2 separate regions of the Homo sapiens genome follow, and region 2 is linked to region 1. The links are contacts of gene promoters, found by promoter capture Hi-C in human tissues and cell types (Jung and others, 2019). All regions are on one chromosome and are shown on one strand. The core of a region is centred on a gene start or on the middle of the fragment in contact, and the rest is flanking DNA. Distances in the headings are between cores, read along the strand shown.

Region 1 (2,974 bases), core at 290-2,789:
GTTTTGGTGTTTTACACTTCTGTAAACTTACTAGCTTTACCTTCTAAAAGTACTGCATTTTTTTTTTATGATCAAAGAAGAGATCATTTAAAAAAAGCATTTCTTTGTGTTTGGATCACAAAGAAACTTTGTTTTTCTGCAGTTGATGGTTATTTGTAAATCTACTTTGTGGTGACCTGATGTAAACAGTGTCTTCTTAAATGTACATCAATTACAGATTAAAAAAAAAATCCTGTATTATTTAACTCAAGAAATGATACCCCTTCAGCAACTTAAAAAAAAAAGTTTGTTTTTGTTTTGTGCGTGTGTGTGTTTTCTTTTTTTTGTTTTGTTTTTTTGGAGACGGAATTTCACTCTTGTTGCCCAGGCTGGATGGCAATGGCCCGATCTCTGCTCACCGCACCTTCCAACTCCTGGGTTCAAGCAATTCTCCTGCCTCAGCCTCCCGAGTAACTGGGATTACAGGCATGCGCCACCACGCCCGGCTAATTTTGTATTTTTAGAAGACACAGGATTTCTCCATGTTGGTCAGGCTGGTCTCCAACTCCCAACCTCAGGTGATCCGCCCGCCTCGGCCTCGCAAAGTGCTGGGATTACAGGCGTGAGCCAACGTGCCTGGCCCTGTGTGTTTTATAAGAGAGACTGGGACTCACTCTGTTGCCCAGGCTAGTCTTGAACATTTAGCCTCAAGTGATCCTCCCATCTCAGCCTCCCAAAGTGCTAGGATTAGAAACATGAGCCAACACACCCAGCCAAAAATCGTCTTTTCTATTTACATTCAGAGTGCGTGTAAATTTGAAATTCACTCTACGTATCGAAATTATTGACATTATGATGTCAATAAAGTTTATCGCAGAGACGTTTGAGGTTAATTCATCTGAAGTTTGGAATAGAGTAACAGGTATAAGGGAGAGCTATTTATATCTATTGTTTAAAAGTTTAAGAGTCATTTATATCTATCATCTAAAAGTTTTAGCTTTCCTTTTTAAAAGCAACATTTGGTGACCTAACTTATCCCTGGCGTTAACCCTCCATGCCCAAGGCGTTGTCCCTGGGAAATTGTCAGGAGCTGAGCACAGGGTTGATCCTCACCCTCCAGAGTGTAGGGGGAATAGAAAAGGAGAGGATTTCTACTCTGTTCTGTGGGACGACAGCATCAAATTGCATGTTCCGCCCAGGCAGGGCTTTGCATTTCATATTCTAGTTCGCTTCCTCTCCCAGACAATTCCAGGGCTTTTAAATTAAAATACTAAAATTAACTTTAATTGCAGGAACTATCTTAGGTCCAATCACTGTCCCCTACTTTGACCCTCTCATAGAGATCCCAGGTCCCAGACTGCTTGGCTGCTGGTCACCGATAGGGTCTTTCCTCAAAAACCTGGAGAACAGACGCGCCCAGAGACAGGCCGAAGGCAGCGCAGACCCCGCCCCTCACCGCCCCACCCTCTCTTCTCTCGGGTCTCGCCCATCCCTGGCCTCAGCTGCGCGCGGTTTCCTGGAAACCCGGAAGTGAATCATGGGGCGTGAACTCGCAAGCGCAGTTTCCTGAAGACCCGGAAGCCGATCGCGTGGGGAGCCGGTCTTGGAGCAGCGGGTGAGTTTCCCTTTGTCTAGATTAGATCCGCTTCCAGCGCTTCTGTACCTGGTGTTGGCGGAGGGGTTCTTACGGATCTTAAAATCCTCCCGCCGTTCCCTCCATCCTAGGTATATTAATACGTCGCCAAGAAATTCGGAGGTTAAAATCGCTTGGAGGCTGCTGGTCCTTTCCCTGAGCTCTCTGCCTTCGGGCCACGTAGACGCTTTTCGTCCCGTTTACCTGCTTAAAACCCTTTACTGACCACTCCTTCGGTCCCGCGTCATGTAAAAGCCCTCACCCATGAGGTGTATTCACGCCCAGTGGGTCCTCCAAGCCTCGCCCTTCTGGCCTCTTGGAGCTCGGTCCCGCAGTCTCGATGCATCAGCGCCGTGTCCTCTGCCCGGCCCTGGGATTTTGGAAACCCCACCCCTCTCCTAATCCACCCCCAACCTTGTCCTCCTTGGGCTGGGCCCTTGTGTTCCCCAGGTTTCCCCTTCACAACCCACATTCCTTACCCCGCATTGAGGGAGGTGACGGGGCCTGGCTTTTGACACTCAGTGTTTTTCCGTTCCAAATTGCACCCGCTGGAAAATGTGCTCTTCCAGAGGAAAAACGATTGATTTATTCTTTCCTCCTCTGAAACTCAACACGGTAGTAAACACTGAACCCAGAATACTTCACTTGTGGTCACCGAATGTGTGGGGATTTCTCCCCACTAACAAGCAGTTCTCTATCAGACATCAACTCGGTGTCCCATAATTTACCTCACTTCTGACAGCTGTACCTGGTGTAAGCATCGGATCCCACAGATTAAAGGCTCAGTCCACAAGACTTCTCCACTTCAGATGTCGGTTACAAGTCCCAGATTGGAACCTGAACTTCTAAGCTACTGGATATAAATTGAGGATTCCCATGACCCAGTCTTCAGTATTTATTAATTTGCCAGAGTAGCTCACAGAACTCAGAAACGTTTTAGTTGGGTTTACTCATTTGTTTTAAAGGATATTACAAAGGTTGCAGATAGACAGATGGAATAGCAGTTCTAGAAAATTAGTTGAATGCAGGAGAGGATTTGGGAACCGTGGTGTTTATCTGGTCAGTCAGAAGTAGAGGTGAAAACTACTACTTGTGTACAGCTTCTAAGGTGAAGGGTAGTCTTGTGGGACTGAGCTTTTCACCCATGGGATCTGACACTATCTCCTTGTAGATAGTGTAAGAATTGAGTTAAATTTTAGGATTCCCAGGTGGAAGTCTGCAAGGAACTGGTCAGTGTAGGGAAACCACACATTTTCTTGACCAGAAGTAAAGTATCCTGTGTTGAGCACGAGAGCAATGAAAACAGTTTGGTTTTTTCCTGTCTCAGTGAAGGGAAGATATTTGTAACAGGCTCACTTACCT
Region 2 (2,974 bases), core at 300-2,799, 200 kb after region 1:
AAGATGAAGCTTGACTGAAGACCTTGCTGCAATCATGACATTTGTAACGTTTCTTTCCAGTATGAGTTCACTGATGAACTGCAAGCTATGAACAATGTCTGAAATATCTGCCACATTTACTACACTTGTAAGATCTCTCTTCATTATGGATTCTCTAATGATTTGCAATGCTTGTAGCATTACTGAGGACTTTGTGAGAATCATTACATTTGTAAAGTTTCCCTATACCATGGATTGCTTGATGATGAATAAGTGATGACTGCCCACTAAAGGCTTTGCCACACTCATTGCACTTATAAGGATTTTCTCCAGTATGAAGTCTATGATGGCATACAAAGGATGACATATGACTGAAGGTCTTGCCACACTCATTGCACTTGTAAGGTTTCTCTCCACTATGAAGTCTATAATGGTATACAAAGGATGACATATGACTGAAGGTCTTGCCACACTCATTACACCTGTAAGGTTTCTCTCCAGTATGAACTCTCTGATGTTGTGCAAGGTTTGACTGTTGATTAAAAACCTTGCCACATTCATTACACTTGTAAGGTTTCTCTCCAGTATGAATTGCCTTATGAATTAGAAGGGATGAATTTCGAGCAAAGGTCTTGCCACACTCATGACAGTTGTAAGGTTTTTCTCCGGTATGAAGTCTACGATGGCCCACAAGGGATGACTTCTGACTGAAGGTCTTGCCACACTCATTACACTTGTAAGGTTTCTCTCCAGTATGAAGCCTATAATGACATGCAAGGTGTGCTTTTTGATTAAAAACCTTACCACATTCATTACATGTGTAAGGTTTCTCTCCAGTATGAACTCTCTGATGTTGTGCAAGGTATGAATCACGCTGGAAAACCTTGCCACATTCATTACATGTGTAAGGTTTCTCTTCAGTATGAACTCTGTTATGGCGTGAAAGGCATGAATTATGCCTAAAAGCTTTGTCACAAACCTTACATTTGTATGGTTTCTCTCCAGTATGAATTCGCCTATGTGTTTCAAGTTGTGATCTGCAACTGTAAACTTTGTCACATCCTTCACATTTGTAAGGTTTCTCTCCAGTATGACGTCTACGATGCCCTACAAGGGATGACGTCTGACTGAAGGTCTTACCACACTCATTACACTTGTAAGGTTTTTCTCCAGTATGAAGTCTATGATGGCGTGTAAGAGATGACTTGTGACCGAAGGTCTTGGAACACTCATTACACTTGTAAGGTTTTTCTCCAGTATGAACTCTATGGTGCCATGCAAGGTATTGCTTTTGATGAAACACTTTGCCACATACATCACATTTATATTGTTTCTCTCCTGAATGGGTTACATGATGTCTTCTTAAATGTGAGCTATAATTAAAGGCTTTGCCACACTCATTACATTGGAAAGGTTTTTCTCTCATGTGTTCTTCCTGGATTTGTGTCAATAATGAAGAATGGAGAAAGTTCTTCCCATACCTATTAGAAATATGGGTTTTGAGCCTACAAGAAATTCTTTGGGATGTTGAAACCAAGGAAGCATTGTTGATAGACTTCTCCACTTGATTATCAATTTTCCCTTCAGTCTGAAATTCGTGCAGTTCAGGCAGATGTGAATAAAAGCTTGATCCAAGCTGATCTTTAATAGGCTTGTTTCCAGCATGCCTTTGATCACGTCGGTCTGTACTACCAGTCAACTTTTTGATTTTTGTCATGGGTGCTTCATGGCCATTTCTTTTAATTTCTTGCCACTGAAACTCAAAGTCATGAATATCTTTCTTGATTTCTGGGAAGCAAAAATCTCCAATGTGATGACTTTTATGTCTTTGCAATGTCCCTGTGTGGATCACTTCTCCTGTATTACCGTGCCCTGTTGATGAGAACTCCGTCATGGATTTTAAAGAGCTATCTAAAAAATATAAAGACCAATAGGTTTCCAATTAAGTACAGATGGTAAATAATATTTAATACTGAAATGTGTTAATATTACACAAAAAGCAATACTTATTTTAAAATTCCCAAATATGATCTTCAAAGTTTAAGAACACCCTGTCTCTATTAAAAATACAAAAATTAGCCAGGCATGGTGGTGGATGCCTGTAATCCCAGCTACTCAGGACGCTGAGGCAGGAGAATTTCTTGAACCTAGGAGGCAGAGATTGCAGTGAACAGAGATCACATCATTGCACTCCAGCCTGGGCAACAAGAGCAAAATTCCATGTCAAACAGAGTTCAGTCAAGAGCCTCATATATATGATGCAGTAAGCCTGAATGATGTCCTCCCTAAGAGGAATTTCTACAGCAGTGACTGCTGTTTAGAGAACATGATCATTAGTTTATGTGATGATCACTGTCACAGTACCAGTGAGAGATGCTTCTGTGATGCTCCTTAAAAACCAGAACAAAAGGCCAAGGGTGGTGGCTCAGGTTTGTAATCCCAACACTTGGCTAGAGGCTGAGGTGGGCAGATTGCTTGAGACAAGGAGTTTGAGACCAGCCTGGCCAACATGGTGATTCCCCATCTCTAATAAAAATACAAAAATTAGCAAGGCATGGTGACTTGCATCTGTAATTCCAGTTAGGTTGGGAGGCTGAGGTATGAGAATTGCTTGAATGCAGGAGGCGGAGGTTGCAATGAGCTGAGATCACAACAGTGCACTCCAGCCTGAGCAAGAGAGGGAGACTCTGTCTCAAAAAACAAAACAAAACAAAAGCAGAATCACAGCTGGAAACACTTGTCAGTCACTGTCATGCTTTCTAGCTCATCTCCTGGGCCACCCTGACAATTCTGCTCAGGGCTACCAGGGGCATCTCTGCTTAGAGCAGGATGACGTTCAATTCTATTAGTCAAAGTGTTCATGAATGTTCTGTTTTTATGTAAAACCACTCCATAGGATAGTCTCTAAGAAGCTGTCTATGACAGACAGGAGGATCATCACTGCAGAAAACAATGACATGTACATCAAAAGCATGTATGCGGCAAAATCACAAAA

The links. The method cuts DNA at HindIII sites, captures the fragments that hold promoters and counts their contacts. A contact is called where the count stands out against the background at its distance.
Region 2: a contact is called between a fragment that was not itself captured here and the fragment with the promoter of ZNF578 in region 1, in 2 of the 25 tissues and cell types used here (liver and small bowel).

The regions. Positions count from the first base shown.
Region 1 is chr19:52,452,014-52,454,987 of GRCh38, forward strand. It overlaps ZNF578 (zinc finger protein 578), which reads left to right and starts at 1,540. Exons shown (of 6, transcript NM_001099694.2): 1 at 1,540-1,594. It also overlaps a transcript of ZNF534 not described here and the pseudogene LOC441862. RefSeq lists an enhancer at 982-2,181. The HindIII fragment of the contact is 17,654 bases long and covers 1-2,974 here.
Region 2 is chr19:52,652,514-52,655,487 of GRCh38, forward strand. It overlaps LOC122539214 (Zinc finger protein LOC122539214), which reads right to left. Exons shown (of 4, transcript NM_001396016.1): 4 at 1-1,890. The coding sequence ends at 155. It also overlaps a transcript of ZNF83 not described here. Among named protein-coding and RNA genes, the nearest start is that of ZNF83, 16 kb to the left of the region's middle. The HindIII fragment of the contact is 5,670 bases long and covers 1-2,974 here.